4 separate regions of the Homo sapiens genome follow, and regions 2, 3 and 4 are each linked to region 1. Evidence: promoter capture Hi-C in human tissues and cell types (Jung and others, 2019). All regions are on one chromosome and are shown on one strand. Each heading gives the region's core, a stretch centred on a gene start or on the middle of the fragment in contact. The rest is flanking DNA. Distances are from core to core; before and after follow the strand shown. Region 1 holds the start of TBX6 (T-box transcription factor 6). Region 2 overlaps SRCAP (Snf2 related CREBBP activator protein). Region 3 holds the start of RNF40 (ring finger protein 40). Region 4 has its middle 15 kb from the start of SRCAP.

Region 1 (3,291 bases), core at 324-2,823:
CTGAGGTCAGGAGTTCGAGAACAGCCTGACTAACATGGTGAAACCCCATCTCTACTAAAAATACAAAAATTAGCTCGGCGTGGTGGTGGGCGCCTGTAATCCCAGCTACTCGGGGCCAAGGCAGCAGAATCACTTGAACCCGGGAAGCGGAGGTTGCAGTGAGCCGATATCGCGCCGTTGCACTTCCAGCCTGGGCGACAGAGCAAGACTCCCTCTCAAAACCAAACAAACAAAAAAACCTCAAGTGCCTGCAAGGCCAAGCAGATACTGTAGATGTGTAAAGGGTAGCATAGATTGGCAGGGTTGGGAGTTGGGGGCAGGCTGGGCAAACTGGAGTGAGCAAGGCCTACTTATATTTTAATACTTTAAAGTTATTTTTATTAAACTGTCTGCTGTCCAAACATAATACATGTTGTAGGCCAAAATGGCCATGAAGCTACCAGTTTGCAAACCCTGAACTGTGAAATCTTTTAGCCACTTCCCTATCTTCTCTGTTGGAGCCATCATTAGTACTTAAAAAAGTACCTTTGAGTCAGGGAGTTCTATTCTACTCTGTGTTTGTGAGAAATACGGCCCTGCCCCTCTGGGCCACAGTTTCCTCATATGTAAAATGGGGCCACTCATGTCCACTTCCCAACCCCAGTGCCTTGTGGTGAGACTGTTGCTCCGGGGATGACGGTCCCGCCCCTCCTTTCAGGAACAGGCCTTTGAGAGCAGCCAGAAGTACAAAGAGGGGAAGTACATCATTGAACTCAACCACATGATCAAAGACAACGGCTGGGACTGACCCCCGCTCCCCCGACGCATGTGGCTCCAGCCCGGCCTGGCCGCCAGGGAGCGCCACTGGCTTCCCGCCACCCGAAGGGAGCTCTGGACCCTCAGAGCCCCTGCAGAGGACGGATCTAGCTCCTGTATATATATTTTATTGCATGCACTGTGACCTTGGGGGGAGAACAGAAGGGGGACGACGCCCCCGCACCTCCTGCGATCTGGCTGGCTTGGATCTCGTTTTTAACCCGTTCCTGCCCCACCTGCCCTATAGTTATGGCCTGTGTTCTGCTCTCCTGGTCCCAGTGCACCGTCTGCTCTGTGAACTCCTCCCACCAGGCCCTTCTTACCCCACGCGTGTCTGTCCCCCTCGTTCTGTAGCGTTTGTACATAATAAAACAATGGAGTGGAGACAGCTCAGGCTCGCGTGTAATCCGGGAAGGGGGAGCTCAAGCGGAGATTTCCGCCCCTATAGACCTGTGCGGTTCTGAGCCCCGGCGGGGCATGGGGTAGGCACAGCCGTCCAAGCTGGGTCTCCGGGAACCGGGACGGTTTCACTGCTGGCGGAGGTCCTGAGCCCACTCTGGCTGCCTACGCCGTGACCTCGGCTGATCTGCGTCTGCTCATCTGCAGCGTTTGGCCGCCGCCTAGGGGCAGCGTCCCAGGGAGGCAACCGCGCCGCCGGCCTCGCAGCCCCCTCGCGGTCGGACTGCAACTCCCAGCGGCCCCCGCGTGGTCCGTCCGGCTCCTTCGGGCGCGCCTCAGCGCTGAGCCTGCCGGGAAGTGTAGTTCCGAGGGTTCCCCAGCGCGGGACCTTCGGGAAACCCTGGCGCGAGGCGTCAGAAGCTGTCGGACTGTGAGCGCCTTCGAACTTTGGAGGCTTGGCTCGGGATGGAGGTTTTTTTAGCATGGGGACCAGGGAGGACTACGGTGCTCGGGACTGGGCTGCGGCCTCCTCGCGGCCCCGAGTGCCCTGTGAAATCAGCTCAGGCCGCGTCCCTCTAGCCTGCACTTTCCCTCTGTTCACGCTGCTTCCCTCCAGGGCCCGGCCTCCAAGTGAAGGGGGGCGGAGGGCGGTCACCTGCCAGAAGGTCTGGGGCGCCAAGGTGTGTCCCGGGACTCTTGGCTCCGTCCAGGTTCCAGGCCCCGCCCCCCAGCTTATCCCTAGCCGGGGCTCCCCACCGTGGGAACGGGGACCAGCTGGCCGGAAGCGCCAAACTGCGTCCCTGTCCGAGCCCTGGGGATCAATCAAGCCGAGGAGTTAATTATGTAATGAGGGGGCAGGGGGTCGAGGCTAATGAAGCCTCCCGGGGTGGGGAGGGAGGGGAGGAGGGGACCGTACCCAGGTATCCGACCCCCTCTCGGACCCCTTCGAGGCCCCAGGGGTCTCCACCCCAGCCCAACTCCAGGGCCCCAAAGAGGGGAGGGGCTGTGATCCTGGATCTGGAAGGGGCTGAGCTGTGAGCTATAAAGGGGGCATCTCGCAGCACCGGGGGCCCTAAGCAGCGAGACCTGAGGCCAGACGGAACTACAACATGTACCATCCACGAGAATTGTACCCGTCCCTGGGGGCCGGCTACCGCCTGGGGCCCGCCCAACCTGGGGCCGACTCCAGCTTCCCACCCGCCCTAGCGGAGGGCTACCGCTACCCCGGTGAGCGTTGGGACCAGCTCCTGGGTAGGAGAATAGGGGGGCTGTGGCCCTCGGCTGGCTCCTCATTCTTCCCCGGCTTCCAGAACTGGACACCCCTAAACTGGATTGCTTCCTCTCCGGGATGGAGGCTGCTCCCCGCACCCTGGCCGCGCACCCACCTCTGCCCCTTCTGCCCCCTGCCATGGGCACTGAGCCGGCCCCATCAGCTCCAGAGGCCCTCCATTCCCTCCCGGGGGTCAGCCTGAGCCTGGAGAACCGGGAGCTATGGAAGGAGTTCAGCTCTGTGGGAACAGAAATGATCATCACCAAAGCTGGGAGGTGAGGGGCTGGCCAGGGTCCGTGTTTCTGGTGGGGGTCTCTTGGGAAAGGCAGAGTCCCTGGGGAGGGGGCTAGGACTGGGTGGTTCCCGAGGGGCTAGAGCTCTGCCTAGGCCTAGAATCTGACTATGGCCTGGGGCAAGGGTTACTCTGTGGCAGGAATCAGGAGTCACTCTGTGACAAGGGTTAAGGGCCAGTCTGTGGAGTCTGTGGCTGAGTTTAGGGACCAATCTATGGCAAGGGTCATGGGTCAGTCTGGGGCAGGGTCAGGAAGTCCCTCTGGGTTATAGGTTAGTGTGTGGCTTAGACCAGCATCCAGACAAGGACAGGGGGTCAAGGGCCAGCCCATTGACCAGCATCAGGGAAATCTGGCCAGGATTCGGGATCAGTATGCAACTCGAATAGGAGTCAGTATATGACTAGGTCCAGGGTCACCCTAGAGGCAGGGACACGGTCAGTGTTTGACCTTAGATGAGGTCTTTAGCTGGGGCAGGAACTCAAGCCCTAGCATGGAAAGTCCTCGGCCCTACTGCAGGCAGGGTATATTTTTTCT
Region 2 (2,951 bases), core at 37-2,536, 610 kb before region 1:
ATCCATACAACATAAACGTCATTAGAGTTGCCTGAAATTATATTTACTCCCTCAAGAAGTTTTGATCATTCCTACTACCACGCCATCTACCAATCTAATCCAAGGCCATTTTCCTTTCCTGATCCCCACTGTCTACCTTCTCCACATTGCTCCAGAACTGCCTGACATCCTTGGCCATGGTGGAAGCAATTCGACGCAGCTTGGCCTGCTCCTCCCTCCGGGCCCGTTCCTCTTTCTGCCGCTGCTCCTCGTGGTGCCGGATCACCATGCGCACCACCTGTGGGAATGAAGACCCAGGGTGAAAACACTCAAAGCCAGACTTCCCCACCCAAAGGCAAAGAAAATAATCAAGGCCAAGAAATCTGGAAAATCAAGAGTTTGCTCTTAATGCCTACACCATTCTGTCTGGTCCCCTTCCAACAAACCGGGAAGGAACAGACCTGAAAAGGAAAAGGAAGGAAGTCCCAGCGGAAGACCTACCTTCCGGGCCACACCCCGTTTCCAACGGCGCTCCTGAGCAAAGTCAGCAGAGAGCCACTGCATCTCTTCGCACAAATAGTCCCAGTGACCTTTGGGGCGAGGGGGCTCTGGCACCTTAGGCAGCCTCTTCAGTGACCAGAAACCCTCCTTCCGCAGCTCAGCAATCCGAGTCTCGATCTCGGCCTCCTAATCAGGGAGAGCCAGATCAATCAACAGTTCTAAACACACACTCCATCTCACTGCCACGGCTGAATTCCTGAGCACTAAGTGGGCTGAGTGTGTTATGCTTATGTTTAGTCCACATACCAAACTTACAGGCAGGTATCATACTCTCTTCAGAGAAGGGAAAAAAGATCAGGGAGATGAAGAAGGAAAAAAGATCAGGGAGATTAAGTGATTTGCCCAAGATCACACAGCTAGAAAGTAATAGAAAATGTGAATCAAAAATAGGTCTGAGGACTCCAGACAGCAAATTTCATGCTCTTTCCATTATTTAACACAATCTCCACACCCCATAGACATAGGAGAGACTTGGGAAATCATATCCCAAGAGGAGCTTCCCAGAGGAGTAGGGAACACATACTTCCCTCTTGATTCTAGATACAAGGGGTCATCATCATTGTAGAATTCTACTTACTCAGAGTATTTTCATGATGCATTAAGCTTAGAAATATGCTATAATGCCCAACTGACACACTGTTGTTTTTAAAAATACTACTTTTGTAAAAATGCATATGTTTATGTAAAAAATACTGAAACGTTATACGTGAAATGTTTAACACTGATTAGGTGTAAAAAAGAGTGGTCATTTTTACTAAAGCTTCTACACTGATTGTCTTTTATTTAAAAAGCATTTAAAATTTTTTTGACAGAGACGACTCAAAAAATTCAGGACAACTGCCTTATTTCTTTTTCTGAATCTCACTCAGAAATCTGAGTGAGATTTTTCTGGGTCTCACTCTGCTGCCTAGGCTCAGGTTATCTTCCCAACTCAGCCTCCCAACTCAGCCTCCCAGGTAGCTGAGACTGACTATAGGCACATGCAACCATGCCCAGCTAATTTTTTTGTATTTTTCGTAGGGGCGAGGTTTCACAATGTCAAGGCTGGTCTGGAACTCCTGGGTTTAAGCAATCCGCCTGCCTGGGATTCCCAAAATGCTCAGATTATAGGCGAAAACCACCGCACCCAGCCTCTGTCTTTGTTATTTCTGTCCTCTCCTGATAAAAACTAAATCAGAGAAAATGACAGCCAGAGACCAGACAGGACTAAATGGCCTGACAGTGAAGGAAACATCAAGAAAGACGTGGATATTAGACCAGCTGCTCTCAAACTTGAGGAGGCACCGGAATCATCTGGAGGACTTTTAGAAACAGGTTGTGCTCACACCTGTAATCCCAGCACTTTGGGAGGCCAAGGCGGGTGGATCACAAGGTCAGGAGATCGAGACCATCTTGGCTAAAACGGTGAAACCCCGTGTCTACTAAAAACACAAAAAATTAGCCAGGCATAGTGGCGAGCGCTTAGTCCCAGCTACTCGGGAGGCTGAGGCAGGAGAATGGCGTGAACCCAGGAGGCGGAGCTTGCAGTGAGCCGAGATCATGCCACTGCACTCCAGCCTCAGCGAAAGACTGAGACTCCGTCTCAAGGAAAAAAAAAAAAACCCAATTGTGGCCGGGCGCAGTGGCTCATGCCTGTAATCCCAGCACTTTCAGAGGCCGAGGCTGGCAGATCACAAGGTCAAGAGATCAAGACCATCCCGCCAACATGGTGAAACCCCATCTCTACTAAAAATACAAAAAATTTAGCCGGGTGTGATGGCGGGCGCCTGTAGTCCTAGCTACTCAGGAGGCTGAGGCCAGAGAATGGCTGTGAACCCGGGAGGCGGAGCTTGCAGTGAGCCAAAATTCTGCCACTGCACTCCAGCCTGGGCGACAGAGCGAGACTCCGTCTCAACAAAATAAATAAATAAAATAAAAATAAAAATAAAAAATAAAAACATTGCTGGGCCCTACCCTCATAGTTTCAAATGGGTCGGTGGGTGAGAGGTACCAAGAATTTGCATTTTTTTTTGAGACAGAGTCTCACTGTTACCCAGGCTGGTGTGCAGTGGCATCATCTCAGGTCACTGCAACCTCCGGTTCCCAGTTCAAGCAATTTCCCTGCCTCAGCTTCCTGAGTAGCTAGGACTACAGGCCTGCGCCACCACGCCAGGCTAATTTTTGTATTTTTAGCAGAGATGGGATTTTGCCACGTTGGCCAGGCTGGTCTCGAACTCCTGACCTCAGGTGATCCACCCGCCTCGGCCTCCCAAAGTGCTGGGATTACAGGCATGAGCCACCACGCCCGGCAAAGAATTTGTGTTTCTACTAAGTTCCCAGGTGATGCTGATGCTGCTGGCCCAGAGACCACACTTACCACTGGATAAATGTAATACAGACTGCACGATAGAAATAAATAGAAACCAGTAAAT
Region 3 (3,136 bases), core at 622-3,121, 670 kb before region 1:
CATCAGCAAGGGGTCTGGAAGGAATGGACAGACCCTCATGAGGATAAGAGCAGCAGTTACTACCACTCTGTACCAAGTTCCAGACTGAGCCCTTCAATACTCATGGTTCACTTAATCAACACAACCTATAGTGCACTATTATCTCCATCCTGAAAGTGAGACAAATGAAATTCAGGGAGGTAAAGTAATTTCCTCAAAGCTACAGAGTTGCGTATCACATCCTCAGGGAAGCTTCCTGTACTTTACCAATATAATTAGAATCACACGCACATGCATGCACACACAATCATTCCGTTTCAGGAGCCCCAGTACTTTCTGCTTACTATGTTTATAATTTCCTCCCTTATAGCAAGTGCAACACTCATTTCTAGGAAGCGTCAAATACATATTTAATACTCAACCATAATACTGTTTTGAAACAAATGGGTGTCAAAACATGAATTGCTCTATAAACCAAGTTAGTCAGAGTCTAAAGCCTGTGTTTTTGTGCACTGCACTTTACTGCCCAAACATGAAATCCATTTCGTGAGAAGTAGTAAGATAGGCAATTCAGGGGCCCAACACCAAAGTCCCCTCCTCCCCAGGACTTCTCCCAGAACTTAAGCTCCCCAGATCCCAGCACTCTGGTCCTACCTCTCAGCTCTGATGTCCCCGGCTCTGGGAGAGGAGTCCCATCACATGTTGGCCCCTCCTGGGTCCCAGGTGCCTCAGGCGCTGAAGACAGCTCCCCCTGGCTCTCATGGCATCGGAGAAGGGCTTCCACAGTTTCATCCAGCTGGAAGGAGAAAACATCAAAAATGTTATGAATCCCTTAGTGCTTTCCAACATGATACTCCTTTCCTAGCAGGGGAATCTGGGGATTGGCAGCTGAATCAAGGCCTGGTCTTTGAAAGCAGAAGGTATCCACCTGGGCCCAGTAGCGATTGACGATGAGGAGTGTGGCATCATCTGTGGCCTGCCGCTTCTCCAACTTCTCAATTCGTTCTCGGAGTTCATCTTCACAAGCCTGCCGTTGTTCCAGCCGCTCTGCCAGTTTCTTGTTCTTGAACTGTAGTACCTTCAGGTCCATCTCCTCCTACCAAAGGAAACAAAGGGGCCGACGAGAGCGTCAAGCAGGGCCCACAAACCAATCACAGAGAGAGAAAGAGGAGCAGAGCATCTGCAATGCATGGGAGATGGAGGTATTCCCACACTAACCGCTAACAGAATCTAAGGAGGCTCAGACAACACACAGCGAAAGTGTCTTTGTTGTGAGGAGGCTCACGTTGTTTCTGCCTGTCCCCTTGTAAATCCTTAGTCTTTGACAAGTCACACGCCCCCTGGAAACCTGTTTTCCTATCTGTAAAGGGAAGACAGGCGTCGTGTTCTGAGCTTCTTTCTAACCTTTCTTTCAAGGTCCTGTAACGCGGACCTTGCTAAACTTGGGGAAGTGGGTGTAAGATTCCGCACAGTTTGGCCAGAGAACAGAGGGAGGGCTCTGGGAAGTTCTGAGGGTTAAGGCAAGAGCCCACGAACCGTGGAAGAGATGCCTCCAAGACGAATGGGCTCGATAAGAGTCGTGGTGGTCTTCTCCTCACGACTCAGCTTCTTTTCCGGGGGCCCTGAGCCCCCGTCGCCGGCGGCGCGTTTGTTGCCTGGCCCAGACATGGCCGCGGCGGCTGGAGCGATGCAGGGTCCCCTGAGGGGCGTCAAACGGGAGGAGGCGGTACTTCCGTCACCTGCAGAAGACACAGAGCAGAGATGTGGGAACGGCTGGTGTTCCACAGCCCCAAACACCCTCCACCCTGCACACACCTGCTGGATCCCGTCCCCCCCGGCGCCAGAGCCCTCACCAGCAGGAGGGTCAGCCTAGCGCCGCCATCTTGGATTTCACCGGACGTCACTGGGCGTCACTGGACGCCACTGCCCCCCCCCCAACGGTGCGCAGGGCGCAGGCGCCAAAGGCAGCCCCGGATGTGAGGAAACTTCTTTATCTTCTGCTTCTATTGGTTACGCTTGGTCCCGCCACTCGGGTCCTCTGGCTTCTTCCCAAACACCTCCTCTTTCTCTCGGTGATTGGCCAAGAGGCAGTTCCCATAGTAACTGACACCGCGCTCCCACTTCCCAGCCTGGAGGACAGCACCGGCCCTCGTATTAGCAACCTGGAAGAGAGGGCGCCCAGGTGGGCACTCGCAACTTCTCACGTATCTGCGCGTTCTCTTCGCTCCCACTGGCGTGAGCCTGCGCTTTCCGCCTTCCTTCCCTCACAAGCCCCCTTGGCAACCGTCGCCGTTGAGACGGAGGGAGACGCCCCCACGGATTCGCCCCGCCGCGCCTCTCCGCGCGTAGATTGGCCGGAGCGAGGCGAACGGGCCCGGCCTTGGTAGCCGCCGACCGAGCGCTGGCTGTCCTGGAACCTAGGCGGCGGGAGCCCGGGGCGCCTCGCGGCACGGAAGAGCGGCGAGATGCTCAACCGCAAGACCAGCCACTTTTTGGGAATGAGGGTGCAGTCGGAGCTTGAACATCTCTCCGAGCTGCGGCGGGAAGCGGGGAAGGATCGCAGCTCAGTGCATGGGTCGGCCGCGCGGACGCGTGCGAGTGTGCGGACTCAGTGGACGACGGCGGCGGCGGCGAAAGCGGATGAAGACCCCGGAGCCAACTTGTTTCCGGTGAGGGCGGGACAGTCTGGTCTGCTCGTGAATATTTATAAACCGGCTCCCCCGCAGGCGCCACCTGTCATTATGCTTACTAACGTTCGGGACGTCTCCCGGGCTGCTTGGGCGAGGAGAGGCAGGGGTGTGTGACCCCGGTGGTTACTGTGCTCGCGTAGAGCACCTAGGGCCTGCTGAAGCCCTCCCTCGCCCGCGCCTCTCCTTAGTCCTTGAGATGAGATGGCAAGTTACAGCGGCTTCTCCGGCCTGCTGGAGATTCGCTACGGGCCAGGACACCGCAGCTGCCTTCCCCAATTCGCTTTCTTTCCGCAGCCGCCGCTGCCCCGACCCCGGATCTGCATGTGGTGAGTGTGAAGAGACAAAAATTACACTGAATATTTGCGTTCTTTATTGTCTCCCCAACAGTCCTGTCTGTGGCCAGGGCATCCCCATTTTACAGATGAGACTGAGGCCTGGAGATGCAATTACTCCAGGTGACTGGAAGT
Region 4 (3,078 bases), core at 155-2,654, 590 kb before region 1:
TGCATTCCTGCCTGGGCGACAACGCAAGACTCCGTCTCAAAGTAAATAAATAAGTAAATAAAATTTAAAAAGTAATAATAAAAGAGTATAATGGTGTATGTAATCCTCTAGAGCTGTTTCTTTCTTTCTTTTTGAGACGGAGTCTCGCTCTGTTGCCCAGGCTGGAGTGCAGTGGCGCAATCTCGGCTCACTGCAAGCTCCGCCTCCTGGGTTCACGCCATTCTCCTGCCTCAGCCTCCCGAGTAGCTGGGACTACAGGCACCCGCCACCACGCCCGGATAATTTTTTGTATTTTTAGTAGAGGCGGGGTTTCACTGTGTTAGCCAGGATGGTCTCAATCTCCTGATCTCATGATCCGCCCACCTCGGCCTCCCAAAATGCTGGGATTACAGGCGTGAGCCACCGCGCCTGGCAAGCTGTTTCTTTTTTACACTCGATATTGTATTGACAAAAATCATTCATACTTTTATGTGTGGCTGTGGTTCATTGAAATTTCACTTTTTTTTTTTTTTTTTTTTTTGAGATGGAGTGTTGCTCTGTCGCCCAGGCTATAGTGCAGTGGCGCGATCTCCGCTCACTGCAAGCTCTGCCTCCTGGGCTCACGTCATTCTCCTGCCTCAGCCTCCCGAGTAGCTGGGACTACAGGCGCCCACCACCACGCCCGGAGAACTTTTTGTATTTTTAGTGAAGACGGGGTTTCACCATGTTAGCCAGGATGGTCTCGATCTCCTGACCTCGTGATCCACCCGCCTCGGCCTCCCAAAGTGCTGGGATTACAGGCGTGAGCCACCGCGCCCAGCCGAAATTTCACTCTTTTATAATATTTTATTTTGTCAAGGTACCCCAATGTATTTATCTGTTCTCCTGTTGAAGGGCATTTTGGTTTCTTTATGAGTGTTTCTATCATATGTTGACTGCAGTTATGAATATTCATGTACATGTCTCCTGGAACACTTGAGCAAGACTTACTCCTGGATATTTGCCCAAAAATGGAACTGCTGGGTTTTAAGGTATGTAAATGTTCAATTTGACAAGATAATGATAATTTTTGGCTGGGCGCGGTGGCTCAGGCCCGTAATCCCAGCATTTGGGAGGCCGAGGTAGGTGGATCACTTGAGGCCAAGAGTTCAAGACTAGCCTGGGCAACATGGTGAAATCCCATCTCCACCAGAAAATACAAAAGTTAGCCGGGTGTGGTGGCATGCACCTTTAGTCCCCAGCTACTTGGGAGGCTGAGGCAGAGGCTGCAGTGAGCCGAAATCGTACCATTGTACTCCAGCTTGGGCAACAGAGCAAGACTCTGTCTCAAAAAAAAAAAAAAGATAATCTTCTTCAAAATGGCTGTACAGATACAGATTCCCTCCAGCAATGTATAGAAGATCTGTTGTTCAATACTTGGTGTTATCTGACTTCTTAATTTTTGCCATATACTGGGTATAAAATAGTATCTCATTATGATCTCAATCTATATTTCCTTGATCACTAATGATGGTGAGCATCTCTTCATAAGCTTTTTAGCCATGTTTCGTTCTTGTTGAAATGCATGTTCAAGTCTTGTGTCCATTTTTCTACTAGCTTATTGTCATTTATTGATTTTTTCAAGACAGGGTTTCGCTCTGTTGCCCAGGCTAGAGTACAGTGGCATGACATAGTTCACTGAAGCCTCGAACTCCTGTGCTAAAGTGATCCTCCCTCCTCAGCCTCCTGAGTAGCTGAGACTACAGTTGCACACCACCATACCCGACTAATTTTTTTTTCAGTAGAGACAGTCTTACTATGTTGCACAGGCTGGCTTTACTGATTTTTTCTTTTTCTTTTTCTTTTTTTTTTTTTTTTTTGAGACGGAGTCTTGCTCAGTTGCCCAGGCTGGAGTACAGTGGCGCGATCTTGGCTCACTCCAAGCTCCTCCTCCTGGGTTCACACCATTCTCCTGCCTCAGCCTCCCGAGTAGCTGAGACTACAGGTGCCCGCCACCATGCCTGGCTAATTTTTTTTGTATTTTTAGTAGAGACGGGGTTTCACCATGTTAGCCAGTATGGTCTCGATCTCCTGACCTCGTGATCCACCCACCTTGGCCTCCCAAAGTGCTGGGATTACAGGCTTGAGCCACCATGCCTGGCTGGCTTTACTGATTTTTACAAGGCCTTTAGGTTATCTCAGTATATATTTTTGAATGGCTATATGTGTTTACACATATCTTCTTCAAGTTTGTAGCTTATAATTTCATTCATTTTAGTATAGTTTCATTCATTACTATTTTCTTTTATAGTTAACCTTTTGTGTTGTTTGAGTTTTCATTACTCCCAACTTCAGAAAGAAATTCCCTTACTTTTCTCCTTAAAGTTTTAGTTTTGCTTTTGATAATTAAGTCCTTATATATTGAGTTGACTTTTGAATATAGTGTGGGTCACTGATTTTTTCACTGATTTTTTTTTTTTTTTTGGAGACAGAGTCTTGCTCTGTTGCCCAGGCTAGAGTGCAGTGGCATGATCTCGGCTCACTGAAACCTCTGCCTCCCAGGTTCAAGCAATTCTTCTGCCTCAGCCTCCCAAGTAGCTGGGATTACAGGCGCCCACCACTGTGCCTTGCTAATTTTTGTATTTTTAGTAGAGACAGTGTTTCACCATCTTGGCCAGGCTGGTCTCGAACTCCTGACCTCGTGATCCAACTGCCTCGGCCTCCCAAAGTGCTGGGATTATAGGCACGAGCCACTGCGCCCGGCAGGTCACTGATTTAATTTCATCTTCTCCCATATGGATGACCTTTCTTTCCATATGGGAGAAACAGAATCTTGCTCTGTCACCCAGGCTGGAGTGCAGTGGCATGATCTCTGCTCACTGCAGCATCCGCCCCCGGATTCAAGCAATTCTCCTGCCTCAGCCTCCCGAGTATCTGGGATTATAGGCATGTGCCACCACGCTGGGATAATTTTTGCATTTTTAGTAGAGATGGGGTTTCACCATGTTGGCCAGGCTGGTCTCAAACTCCTGACCTAAGGTGATCTGCCCGCCTCGGTCTCCCAAAGTGTTGGGATTACAGGCATGAGCCACCGCGCCCAGCCCATCTCCATTTATTGAT

The links. Contacts are between HindIII fragments. The study calls those that stand out against the background at their distance.
Region 2: a fragment that was not itself captured here is called in contact with the fragment with the promoter of TBX6 in region 1 in 1 of the 25 tissues and cell types used here (bladder).
Region 3: the fragment with the promoter of RNF40 here is called in contact with the fragment with the promoter of TBX6 in region 1 in 4 of the 25 tissues and cell types used here (adrenal gland, lymphoblastoid cells, small bowel and 1 more).
Region 4: a contact is called between a fragment that was not itself captured here and the fragment with the promoter of TBX6 in region 1, in 1 of the 25 tissues and cell types used here (dorsolateral prefrontal cortex).

What each region holds. Positions count from the first base shown.
Region 1 is chr16:30,090,206-30,093,496 of GRCh38, reverse strand. TBX6 (T-box transcription factor 6) reads left to right here and starts at 1,573. Exons shown (of 9, transcript NM_004608.4): 1 at 1,573-1,624; 2 at 2,256-2,421; 3 at 2,505-2,739. The coding sequence starts at 2,304. It overlaps YPEL3 (yippee like 3), which reads left to right. Exons shown (of 4, transcript NM_031477.5): 4 at 698-1,183. The coding sequence ends at 787. RefSeq lists enhancers at 914-1,103, 2,236-3,109 and a silencer at 1,324-1,583. The HindIII fragment of the contact is 30,865 bases long and covers 1-3,291 here.
Region 2 is chr16:30,704,898-30,707,848 of GRCh38, reverse strand. It overlaps SRCAP (Snf2 related CREBBP activator protein), which reads right to left. Exons shown (of 34, transcript NM_006662.3): 5 at 481-666; 6 at 137-277. Among named protein-coding and RNA genes, the nearest start is that of SNORA30, 4.2 kb to the left of the region's middle. The HindIII fragment of the contact is 5,132 bases long and covers 1-2,951 here.
Region 3 is chr16:30,761,057-30,764,192 of GRCh38, reverse strand. It overlaps RNF40 (ring finger protein 40), which reads right to left and starts at 1,871. Exons shown (of 20, transcript NM_014771.4): 1 at 1,833-1,871; 2 at 1,516-1,718; 3 at 908-1,075; 4 at 634-775; 5 at 1-14. The coding sequence starts at 1,647. It overlaps PHKG2 (phosphorylase kinase catalytic subunit gamma 2), which reads right to left. Exons shown (of 10, transcript NM_000294.3): 10 at 3,017-3,136. It overlaps CFAP119 (cilia and flagella associated protein 119), which reads left to right and starts at 2,131. Exons shown (of 9, transcript NM_001014979.3): 1 at 2,131-2,648; 2 at 2,964-2,995. The coding sequence starts at 2,445. RefSeq lists enhancers at 1,553-1,662, 1,783-2,042, 1,530-2,167, 2,123-2,302, 2,893-3,042 and 2 more and a silencer at 2,579-2,808. The HindIII fragment of the contact is 9,225 bases long and covers 1-3,136 here.
Region 4 is chr16:30,682,559-30,685,636 of GRCh38, reverse strand. No RefSeq gene overlaps it. Among named protein-coding and RNA genes, the nearest start is that of SRCAP, 15 kb to the left of the region's middle. The HindIII fragment of the contact is 3,782 bases long and covers 1-3,078 here.